Linked DNA regions of Homo sapiens: regions 1, 3 and 4 are each linked to region 2. Evidence: promoter capture Hi-C in 16 types of primary human blood cells and fetal thymus (Javierre and others, 2016). All regions are on one chromosome and are shown on one strand. Each heading gives the region's core, a stretch centred on a gene start or on the middle of the fragment in contact. The rest is flanking DNA. Distances are from core to core; before and after follow the strand shown. Region 1 has its middle 29 kb from the start of FOXD1. Region 2 holds the start of OTP (orthopedia homeobox). Region 3 has its middle 12 kb from the start of FOXD1. Region 4 overlaps LINC01386 (long intergenic non-protein coding RNA 1386).

Region 1 (3,214 bases), core at 541-3,040, 4.2 Mb before region 2:
GTGACACTGCTAGAAGCCAGTGAGGCACGATGACGCAGCCGGCAACATCAAACAGCCTGGGCTCATTTTGAGTAGGAGACAAGTCAAAGCATGGATGCATCATGGAGTTGCAGCCATCTCAGAAATAGTCATTTAGGGTTCCCAAACAATGGAATATTTCATGACCAACGCCAGGGAAAGGAATAGGAAAAGCCACATTCGTTTTCCTGGGCAGTATTCACCATAGAAGCCCCACCCAACTGACACAGACCCCCGCATGCAGTATGTAGGGAAAAGCTGAACTGCCTCTACAGAATTATAATATGAATAATAATTTAGGAAACGGGGATATGAAATAATAAGAGCAGAATGCTTAACGAAGGAACTAGAAATTCATTAGCAATCCTGAATTGCTGGAAGAGGCAGCGGTTGAAAGGCAGATGCTGTTGCGATTAGCACTTGGCCTCGGGCTGGTACCCACCAGCCTCTGAGCTTACCTTTTCTGATCCTCTAAGTAAGAAAACCTAGAAGAGTCCCCTCATTTTGTTTACCGGGTGTGAATGGGAGGCAGAGATTGAGGGTCGGGGAGAGGGAATAAACTTGCCCTAGAACAAAGCAAACAACTACATTAAACAGAGGGGCTGTTACAAAAGCAAAATGTGGGCAGTGCATACATTTTTAATGACCAGGACTCGGGTGCCCTGTGCAAACATAAACAGCTCCCTGCCAGCGGAGGGCTAGAAACCTTCCAGTCCTGAGTTTCAGCTCCCTGCCACCCCCTCCTAAGGGTGCCTGGCTGGCCCTGACAAAAATCATTTACAAATAAAGAGCTCTCAGAAATGTGCCCTACCTTCGGCCAAAGAAGAGAACCTCTTTTCCAATAAATATTTGGCCGGGTAGTGGGGAGGGGGCGCCAAGAGTAACAAAGGGAGCCAGCGGCCTGGTTTGTTTGGATTGCCGGGCCGGCGCGGGAGCGGCCGGGCGCAGCTGACCACGGGTACAGATAGGTTAATTTCCACATGGAGCTGCAGAAACCCTATCCGCGGGTTGCGAAGCGTGGGTCAGCCAAGGCATGTTAATCTGTTTAGCATGTGCGCCGCGCGGAGGAGCCAGACCACCGGGGCGCAGGAGGCGCGGCCGCAGCCGGCGCTCCTCTGGGGGAGTTAATAAAGAGCTTAAGGCAGGCAAGTAAGTGTATGGAGGCTGCGAGCGGCTTCTTGCGGGCGGCCCGGGGGAGGGCGAGGCCCGGCTGCCTGCGCTCGCGTTCCCAGGCCCTCGGAACCGCGCGCCCTCGAGGCCGAGCGAGCCCCGCCGCGCCGAGCCTCCCGGGCGTCCGCAGGCCTGGCGCACACCGAAGCGGGGGGCGCAGTACTGCTCTCCCGCCCCCCGGAGCCGAGCCTCTTCGCGTTCGCACCGTGAAAGGAGGGGAGCGAGGGGTTAGCCATCTCGAACATTTTTAACTAATCAAAATATTTGCTGATGAGTATTTATTTTTACAAGAACTCGGTTTGGCTGGAGACTTCCCGAGCAACAATATGGGCTGCCGTATTAGGTTTGTGACGGAGCCAAGTGTGGTTGGGGCTTATTGAATCTGCGGGCCGGAGATCGCTCGCTCCGGAGACGTTTCTCCGTTCTGGGGAAGCAGCTTTCCCAAAACCGTCCTTCTGCAGATGGCTCTTAGAACACAACCACATGTCCCCTAAAGCACGGGAAGCTTCGTGTTTTATGTTTGGGCTGAATGAAAAGAGGAACGCACGCTCTTTCCTGCCCAAGCCAACAAAAGAGAAAATAGCGGGAAACGTCCCTGACCTGAGAAAGGAAAGCCAAAGCTCAGAGGTTCCAGTGTAAGCACAAACAACAAAACTGGATGAGTCCAAAACACCTACCTCAACACATCGCTTCATCGTGCTAAGCTTTTTCTCTCTCTTGTCTTTCTTCCTCCCAATATCCACCCAAGAAAGACCCACTTTTAACTTTACCGTAGTAAAGATGTTGAGTCTGGTCTGAAGGTGATTAAACAACTACGTCAAGTCATTGCAAAGCCACTGGCCACTCTCTAGGAAAAGCTATGGAAGATGAAGTCGAATCAAGTTTGAAAACGGACAAGTGGGAGCTTATACTACTTGAACTATAAAGATAACCTGAAAAATACTGGACCTTAATTTTTTCAATGTTACTGACTGAGAACTAGATAAAACATATCTGAACTGGCAATAATAGTCATTAAGAAATGGACTGCTGTGGCAGGAACTCGTTATTGCTAACCTCTAACAATTCAGCAGTCCTTAGAAAGTGCCTCATAAAGAGTACTTCTCAATGACTCTTAAGAAAAGGGAAGTTGGGTAGGGGTTGTTCTGGAAGACAGTATGCAGGGTATTGCTGGTAAGAAGTGTCTGCAGAAAGTGTAAATGAGCAAATATTGAAAAGAAGAGATTGTTGGCTCACTCCTGTAATCCCAGCACTTTGGGAGGCTGAGGAGGGCAGATCACCTGCGATCAGGAGTTCGAGAGCAGCCTGGCCAACATGGCAAAACCCCTTCTCTACTAAAAATACAAAAATTAGCCGGGCATGGTGGTGAGCGCCTGTAATCCCAGCTACCCAGGAGGCAGAGGCTGGAGAATCACTTGAACCCATGAGGCAGAGGTTGCAGTGAGCCGAGATCGCACCACCGCACTCCAGTCTGGGCAACAGAGCTAGACTTCATCTCAAAAAAAAAAAAAGAAAGAAAATAGGAAGTTGAATCAGAGCAAGCAGAGAGTAAATTTACCTTATGAAAAGACTTCCCAAGTGCAAGATGAGACAGAACTCATTCAAATGTACACAGAAGAGAAATATCTGAAGAGCCATAGAGATCTTGAGCTAAGTATCAGTTGGCAATGCAATCTGAAGACTTTCAAAAGCAAGCGTAGTACTAGGAAATAGAAAGTAAAATGAACTGTTTGGAACCATGTGCCAACTTCTCCCTGGTTTCTATATTAGAGGTTTTTTTTTGTTCAGTCTGGGGAGCCACAACTGAAGAGATTTGGGGAATTAAAACAATCTTTTTCTCTTACACTTCTTCACTTGCTTGGTTTATATTGCTCATGAAGTGTCTTGATCTAAATGACTTAATACAGTGTCCACCTGTCTGATTTGGGCCCATACGCTCCTCCAACTCAAAACTAAGGTGTGAAAGAAGCTTATGGGTCCTTTTGATCAAAGAGGCACATGGCCCTAAATTTAAAACAGAAAAGGA
Region 2 (2,736 bases), core at 98-2,597:
GTATTCAGCTGGGTTCCCCAGAATTTGGACAGCCGGGTTGGAATAATATCTCCCGGCCCCTTGCCCTCGCCGCAGCCGGCTCCCGTAGTAAACAGCACAAGCTTTCGTCTCTCCCACAATAAAACACTCCCAGTCCCGGCAATAAAACATGCCTCTGAATCCCTTCCATAAACCGTACCCCAGGCGCCCCAGGAAATCGAGAGCAAATCTTTGGACACAGGGGTGCGGGGGGCAGAAAGAAAATTAAACAATTCCTCGGTTGCTGCGGCACCTGCGCTTCGGCAGCCTGACGAACTGTACCTCCGGCCCTCAGCCGATTCCCTCTTACTTTCGGAAGATGAATAAGCCTCCAAGCTTTCACCCCCCGAAATCAACCCAAATCAGCTCCGCCTCCCCCTCAAATCAGAGAAAGTGTTTGGAAAATGGAGTCACATCCATCACCGAAGATTCCCAATCCGGAAACCCAGAGCTCAGCAACCCAGATAGCATTAAGGAAACTCGAGTGAACTCTATGGACAACCGTGAATCAAACTTTAGAGATTTCAACTTTTCTTTCCAGAGAAATAAAAGGCGCATTCCTCACAGCCATTGGCAACGCTGAGTCCCTTGCAGAAGAGGGGGGGATGACTGTGAGGTTGAATTTGGCTTCTCTCCTTCTCAACCAGCACACTTAGCAAATCCGCCTTGATGGCAGCAGCTTCTCCTTTATGCCAGATTTTTTACAAATTACACCACACTTAGAAAAGGAGGAGAGAAGAAGATGGTGGGGAGAGAGAAACGGGGGGAGGGAAGGAGAAAGAAATCCCAAATCAAAACAAACAGGAGAGGGAAAAAAGAGAGAGAAACACCTCCTAACAAATTATCACGGGGTATATCGCCTTTCGAAAAAAAAAAAAAGGCGGGGGAGGGGGGAAGAGAAAAATAAGAAAAACAAAAAGTAACAACATTCCCCAACTCCTTTCTTGGATCTACATATTCCATAGATTTTTTTTTAAAGGCGATGTTAAATCAAATTAAACTTTAATGCAGCACAATTACTTTTAAAGAAATTAGTCCATTTAGGTCGCATTAAGGTAAAATAAGGAACAAATTGACAATTTCCTGCCCCGGCTTCTCCTGGCTGCCCGGGCGAGAGGCGCGCACTCACCTAGCCTGGCGTCCAGGAGGTCGGCATGAGACAGCATCGCGCACCGCTCCAGGGCGAAAGCTGTTCCCCCCCAAATTTTAGCGGCTTTAAGTTATTTAAAATAGATATAAGCTATAAGCTATACGATATAGATATATATAGATCACCTAAATGAAAGAAAATTCGGTTTGTGGTTAAAAAGGGGGCTTCTTGCATTATAATGTCCTTTAGAGAGACGGGGAGGTGCTTAACAGTTGAATGAACCCGTGAGCAGCTCGGCGAGGGGACCAATCAGGAGGGCAGCCTGCAAATGTCAGCGCCCGGAGAGTCCCCCACTCCGCCCGCCCGCTCGCCTGCGCCCGCCTGAAGGAGGCGGCGGCGGCAGCCCTGGCAGCTCCAGCCCGGAGCAGGAGCTAAAGCAGCCTCAGCCGCCTCGGCCTCGCCCTGAGCTTCTGGGCCCGGCTCCCTCTAGTTCTTCCCTGCGATTTTCTCCAGGCTCCCCTTTCCTTCCCCTTGGCCGGCGCTGCGCGCTTCGAAGGCGTAGCTCTGTGCCTCTGAGCTAACATCTTCCTAGGGCAGGGGCAGAGCAGGGGTCAGAGCGGGCCATGACCCTGGCGTGACCTGAGGGTCGCCCCCACCTGCGCTCTCTGGGCCTGCCGCTCATATTGGCCCGCCAGCCCAGGGCGCGACGAGGGCACACCGCGGCCTTCAGACAACGCCTGGACTTCGCCGCGGCTCAGTAGGCCTGCGCCTAGGGTCCAGGCGCCCTGGCTGTGCCCTGGGGTCTATACGAGCCCCAACCCCACAGTGGGCCTAGAGCGCAAAGAGGAGTCGGCTTCCCTGGCACCGCCAGCGCCCGCTGTCTGCTTTGGGGACCCTCGCGGAGTGTGGGTTCGAGCGCTCTGCACTCTTCTCACCGGGCTTCTTCCCGGCTCCTGCTCTTCCGCTTGGCCCACGCCCGCATCCTCGCCCCTAACTCGCTCTTTTGGTCAAAGTTTCTAAGTTCAGCTCGGCTCCCAACTCCACTTAAGGCTGTAAATAAAGTTAAATGCTCTTTATTTTCCTCTTGAATATGTTAAACTACTTGAACAATTTAAAGTGCTTTGCACAAGTGAAGCGAACCATTTCTAATGTTCTGATTTTTCAGAGCCAGCCAACAACAAAGTTTAGATTAGTAATATATTTCTAACCAGAGTAATTTTCAAGATCATTAGGCATTTATGTAATTAGTGCCAAATCTATAAGCTTTTATTACGATTATTAGAGTAAAATCAGTATAAATTTGTACTAATTTACTACTGTTTAGACTTGGCTGTCAAGCCTAGAGGTTCTTATTGTAAATGATAACTGAGGAAATTAAGTGCAAAATTCTGTACCATTTCTGATCTGCTCCTAAACAATCCGTTTCAATTGTATTTGTAGCAGAACATAATGCCCTTTTAAAGTTATTTGACTTGTATTTTTATTTGCAACACAAGAAAAATGCCCTCTACCCAGTCACAATGAAAACTGATATTTACTACTCCCAACTTGATTAACATTGATTTTTAATTCGAGAGTGATGCAATTAAGATTATTCATTTAGTGCAAATAAACCTTCCACAAAAGGG
Region 3 (2,956 bases), core at 146-2,645, 4.2 Mb before region 2:
AGTTGCAATATGTCTACTATTTCTCTTTTGCTTCCCTGTTATCCTGTGTCTGCAGTTCTTTCTAATGAGCCATGAAAAAGACAAAGAAAAAATACATCTACATATAAACTATGGGGACAGAATCAACAGCTTGCCTAAGGAATTGAACCAAGTCAGGTTTAACTTCTTAAGACAGATTTGGAGATGGACTTAAGAGGGAAGGAAGAAGACTGAGGAGTATAGTAAGAATCTGTCTGTCTAGTCACACAGTAGGTGCTCCACACACATTTCTTTTAAAAAAAACTGGTAACAAAAAATACACATTATTTACGCAAGCGAGGAACTCCTACAGCATAATGTTTGGCCAAGATAGTGACTTCAGGATGGCACCCGACCCACTTTCCTCTCATTCCCAAATGCTTACTTGGAAATTCCATGTTGCTAAAAGTGAGGACGAGGAGAGGGAGGAGCTGGTAAGTATGTGAGAAATACGGAAGACAGATGGAGAGGAAAATGTGTAGCCTACCGAATGCAAAAGGATGCTTTCCAAGACAGAAGGAGGGAACTAGGCGCCTTTTTTCCACTCCGCTGACCCCAACGTCTGGGCTGTGCGTTGTAACGCAGTTGGCGGGGCCTTCAGCTTGGGATGAGGGCGAAGGGGCTCGGGATGGGTGGGAAAGCAAGGACCGGGCAACAGGTGGGGAGGTGGCGGACTTTTGTCTCGGGGAAGGAAATCGGCTGTGCTGAAAGGGCGGAAAGCAGTAGCGCACAGAACTAGTGTCTGCGGGGTCCCGGGCGCTCTCGCCTTCGCCCTGGGCTCCTCTAATTAGAGAGGGGATGCAGGGTGGCATTAGTTCCCAAACGTTTTAATCGAGCCTCTTTTCAATGGCCAGGGATAAATGTAGCCACTGTTACTCTGTGCTGAATGGGTCGCAAAGGCCCCCGCCCGGCCCCCAGCGAGGCCATTCAGGCGTCTTTTCACAACCCCTAAGCGGTTCAGTCCCCGGGCCTAGCGACACTCCAGAGCGCTCCTAATTAGTCTAATTAGAAAGGTGGATTGATAGATGGAAAGAAGACAGAGTTGGGTTAGGAAGATGCTCAATGCTGCCAATCTCGGCTGGGTTGCCGCTTATTCTCTGCGTAAAGAAAAGGCCGCAAAGAAGGAAGTTGGAGCCGAAGCCCGCGCTGGGGCTGGGCTCTGGCCGGATCGCAGGCTGGGCGGTCTTTGACCCCCCGCGCCTCCCGCCCACAGCCGGAGCCCGGCAGCTGGAAGCACCCGCTACCCCGGGGAGCGTCTCCAGGCCGCGGTCTCCGGCCTTCGCCGAGCGAGGCGGGCGGGAAGGTAGGGCCGCGGTGGAGCGGGCACGGCCTCCCGCCCCAGCCCGGAGCCTCTCCGCCCCGCCGGGCCCCGCGGCCGCCCCTTCCTCACCCGGAAAATCGTGGGGAGGCGCGGCGTAGCGGCCGGACCCCTGGCCTCCGCGTCGGGCTGCGCCACGTGGCAGCTCCCAGCGCCCTCCCGTCCCGGCCTCGCATGCTGTCGGGGGAGCGCCTCGTCCCACTCAGGCCGAAACCCCAGGAAGGAAATCACTCTGGGCTGGGGACGCGGCCTTTCTGCTCGCGGCTGTTGGGTGATGTGCCCGAGGTTTCTCTGCCCTTCTCCGGGCGCAGGCCGTTCATTCGCGCCGCCGCTCCTGAGGGTCGCTGGGCGCAGAACCGCCTCGGCCGCGGCCCGGCCTTAGGCGCGGCCTCGCGCATTCCTGCGCTCGCCACAGCCGGCGGGAGGCGGGGAAGGGAGCAGCCCGGGTGGCTTGGAGAACACTGAACCTTTAATTGGGCTATAAATCAGACAGGGGAGTGCGGTGGAGTTTATGCAGGTGTAAAAACAGAGGGGAAAGCCCGGGCCGAGCAGCCAAAGCGCCCGGGCAGGTCAGAACCTCCAGCAAACTAACATCTTGATAAGTCCGCTGACAACAAAATAAACAGTGGAGAAGGCTGGAGGGCGGGGGGCGCCGTGGCCCGCGGCTGGTTCGCAGCAGCTCGGCGGCCTTCTGCGAGGGGAAGGCGGGCCGCTCTCGGCTTTGTGCTTGGGGCTTTAGGAGGGGGGCGGTTGGAGGAGAGAGAGAAGCCGAATTATCTCCCTTTCCGCGTCTCATTCCCGTGGATGGAGGGCCCCGGGAGCGTTTGACGATGGCAGTTTGGGGCGTGCGCGCTGCCTCGTCGGCCCCTACGACGTCAGGCGCCGGAGCTGCCGGGGCCCCGGGCGAGCGGGCAGCGGCCCCCGCGTCCCTCCCGGACACAGCGCCACCGAGAGGCCGAGCCTCCCGCTCCTGTTGCCATTTCAAGGGCTGACGCCTGGAAAACACCGCCAGGCCCCTGGCCGAAGGAGGTAACTAACCGAGTCGAAACGGCGATCAGAAATTAATTCAGTGCCCTGCTCAGGAGCAAAACCGTCAAAACCCCATCGAGATGTTGGCGCAAGCGGATTCACACACAAAGGAAAACAATAAAAGTCTCGTTAGATCATTTTTCTGGACATTGTTTAAGGTCTGAAAGGGACCAAATCGTTTCAAAATGTTGCCAGTAAAAATTATCCTATGTGGAATGCAACTAATCCTTTTAGGTTCCTGTCAACTGTTTCCACAAAAGGAATCCGATTTTTCAAATCAAAGATCCAAAAGTCTTTGGGGAGAGATTTATTACATGCCAGAGCTTTAGTTACAGAATAGAGTTACAGTAACAACCCGCGCCCACCAACTCCCTAAAATAAGGGATCCTATCCTACATAACTCTAAAGACCTGTGGGATATAGTTTGCTGGAGTCCTGCTATCTATGCAGATAGGGAGGGAGGCCAGGAAGGGGGGAGGAAGGCAAAGAAATAGTAAATTCCTTAAATAGAAAAACAGAGCACAGAATGCCTCAACATTTTATTTTTCTCCTCTGTACTCCCAGTTACTTCTGGAGACAAAAAAAAAAAAA
Region 4 (2,877 bases), core at 104-2,603, 4.2 Mb before region 2:
TTTTCCTTACATTGTTAACCTGGACTGGTCCTCCCATCCTAACACACACCCACACACAGACTTACTTAGCTCCGCATCTAAGTGGTTTGTAGTGGCACATGTTTAGATTTTGTACCCCAAAGCTCAAAAAGTATTTTTTATCATGAATTTAACTGAAAAATACACATATTTCCATTCCAGAGAGGACTCCTCTTGTTGGGGGCTAACTTCAACACCAGACTCTCCTGAGTACATCTTTGCAGCTCTATAAACTTCTGGTATTTGTTCACATTGTCTAATAATTTCCTGGAAATAGACTTAGTATTTTTAGTTATAAGAAGAATTGAAAAATAATATTGCTGTTCTAGAAGAAGGCATTTATTTATTTTGCATTTGTACTTCACCCAGAGGCTGGCTGTGCAGACAAATCTCTCTGCTTGGGAACGACAGGGCTCTCTAAAGTAACTCTAGGGATGCAGCTGTCTACAAGTCACACTGAAAATGAAAAGTATGTTTATGAGGTCATGAGAAAGTCTTGTCATAAGTTGTAATTTTGTGTGTGTATTTAAAAGGTATTTGGTGACCAACCTTTTCTGTCTCACACCCGCACACACACACTATTGCCTGATTTCCAGGCTTAAACTGAGACTGAACTATCACCTGTCTGTTACGCATATGCAAACACACTGAAACCTCATTGTCTACACTCAGTGTGGCACTTCACCTGATACCACCATCTGACACCAGGCTGCAAGTCATAGGTTGCAGTCAGGTACATACACCCCTTTGCAAGAAGGCATTCTCAAAACCTTCCACTAGAGGCACGTGTGAGCACCTTTGCTAGAAAGCTTTGGTCGGCTAGCCTTCCAGAGCAGAAAAAACTGGGAAGGGCCTGAACCCAAAATTTACATAAAAGTAAATACAAATAATGAATGATTCCCTACTCTTCAGAGACATGCAAAATAGGAAAGAGAAAACTCTATCAGATTAGCAAACTACATGAGGATGATGAACATGATGGTAGGAATTCAATTACACACTGCCTGTGGAACTATAAAATTGTACAAACCTTTCAGCAAACAATTTGGCAAAACAGAGCTTGTATCTTAGTGTCCGTTCCCTTGAATCCTTTCATTCTAAGATTCTATTTTATGGAAATAACCAGAAATATGAGCAAATATTTATGTTCAAAATGTTTGCGGCAGTTTTTTTTTAAGAAGCAAAAAAAAAAAAATAGAAACATTCTAAATGCTCGGGATTAAATATATTATTCTCATGATGGAATATTTTGCAATCACTAAAGCGAGGTCCGTGAACAGTTTTAATAACTTGAGAAAATCTTAAAGTTAAGAGAAAGGTTCAGATAGAAAATTACATACAGTATTTTCTCAATAATTCAATGTACTAAACATGCAAAAGACTGGAAGAAAATACAATAAAATGTCAATTGGTTAACTCTGGGTGAAATTATGGGTGGTTTTCATTTTGTTATTTATATTATATTTTTCTATGTTTTCCAAATTTTTCAGCCTGAGCAATTTCCAAAGTGCTGAGTTGAGACAGCTGAGGAGCACAATTAGTGTAAAAGAAAGACTACAGATGGAACAGTTCATATCATTTGAAGCATGATTATAGGAATAGACATCAAGAATTTAAAGCAAGCATAATACATATATCAAAGAGGGAGGGGACTTATTAGTAACATTAAGCAAAAGAAAGAAATAATTGTTTTAAACCTAGTGGAAACATTAAGTATGAAGAAAGTAATAAAATAAAGGGCAAATAGATGGAATACATAGCAGAATGTAGCACAACAGTGTGACTGTTGTCAATAATAATTAATTGTACATTTTTAAAATAACTAGAAGAGCATAGTTGAATTGTTAGTAACACAAAAGATAAAAGCTTGAAGGGATGGATACCTTATTCCCCATAATGGGATTATTATGCATTGCCTGCATATATCAAAACATCTCAGGTACCCCATAAATATATACACCTACTATGTACCCACGACAATTTTTTAAATTTCTTTTTGTTAAAAAAAAACCCTCATCTGGAGCCACAACAATTTAATTTTTAAAAAACAAATATGAAGCAGAATAGATACAACTGAAGAATGGACTGGGTTTGAAGAGTTTGAGGAGCTCTTCCAAAAGCAGCAGGAAAAGACAAAATTCTGGCTCATGAAATCAATTTAGTGCATTTTGACCACAACTGAAAGAGAATAGAACAGAACAGAATGGGATGGGTTAGGATAGAAAACATCACTGCACAGCACATAATAATGCTAAGAATAGTTTGTGAAAACTTTATTTCAGTTATTTTTATTTTTATACTTTTGTGCGTGTGTATGTATACTGAGTTTCTATGTAAAATGATCTCTTGGTTTCCTTGAGCCCAGAAGTTCGAGACCAGCTTGGGCAACATAAGAAGACCCCATCTGTACAAAAAATAATAATTAAAAATGAGTAAAATAATTTCTTAGTGTGGGTTACAATAAAAAAGTTTGAAAGCTCCTCTTTCATTTTATTTATTTTAGATCCAGGAGGTACATGTGCAGGGTCGTTACATGAGTATATTGCATGATACTGAGGTTTGTGCTTCTATTGAACCCATCACCCAAATAGTGAAAATAGTACCTAATATGCGGTTTTTCAACCCTTGCCCTCTTCCCTAATTTTGGAGTCCCCAGTGTGTCTATTGTTCCCATCTTTGTGTCTATGTGTACCCCATGTTGAGCTCCCATTTATAAGTCAGAACATGTGGTATTTGGTTTTCTGTTTCTGCATTAATTCATTTAAGATAATGGCCTCCAGCTGCATCCATATTGCTGCAAAGGACATGATTTCATTCTTGTTCATGGCTGTGTAGTATTCCATGGTGTATATGCACCAC

What was found. The method cuts DNA at HindIII sites, captures the fragments that hold promoters and counts their contacts. A CHiCAGO score of 5 or more calls a contact.
Region 1: a fragment that was not itself captured here is called in contact with the fragment with the promoter of OTP in region 2 in 2 of 17 cell types (naive B cells and total B cells); the score reaches 31.4 in naive B cells.
Region 3: a fragment that was not itself captured here is called in contact with the fragment with the promoter of OTP in region 2 in 3 of 17 cell types (total B cells, naive B cells and total CD4 T cells); the score reaches 29.1 in total B cells.
Region 4: a contact is called between a fragment that was not itself captured here and the fragment with the promoter of OTP in region 2, in 2 of 17 cell types (total B cells and naive B cells). The highest score is 25.6, in total B cells.

Annotation. Positions count from the first base shown.
Region 1 is chr5:73,418,561-73,421,774 of GRCh38, forward strand. No RefSeq gene overlaps it. Among named protein-coding and RNA genes, the nearest start is that of FOXD1, 29 kb to the right of the region's middle. The HindIII fragment of the contact is 199 bases long and covers 1,692-1,890 here.
Region 2 is chr5:77,637,366-77,640,101 of GRCh38, forward strand. OTP (orthopedia homeobox) reads right to left here and starts at 1,348. Exons shown (of 3, transcript NM_032109.3): 1 at 1,148-1,348. The coding sequence starts at 1,184. RefSeq lists enhancers at 1,334-1,890, 1,891-2,445. The HindIII fragment of the contact is 2,017 bases long and covers 353-2,369 here.
Region 3 is chr5:73,435,446-73,438,401 of GRCh38, forward strand. No RefSeq gene overlaps it. Among named protein-coding and RNA genes, the nearest start is that of FOXD1, 12 kb to the right of the region's middle. RefSeq lists an enhancer at 177-1,080. The HindIII fragment of the contact is 4,913 bases long and covers 1-2,956 here.
Region 4 is chr5:73,453,846-73,456,722 of GRCh38, forward strand. It overlaps LINC01386 (long intergenic non-protein coding RNA 1386), which reads right to left. Exons shown (of 5, transcript NR_126410.1): 5 at 345-474. Among named protein-coding and RNA genes, the nearest start is that of FOXD1, 6.5 kb to the left of the region's middle. The HindIII fragment of the contact is 1,057 bases long and covers 826-1,882 here.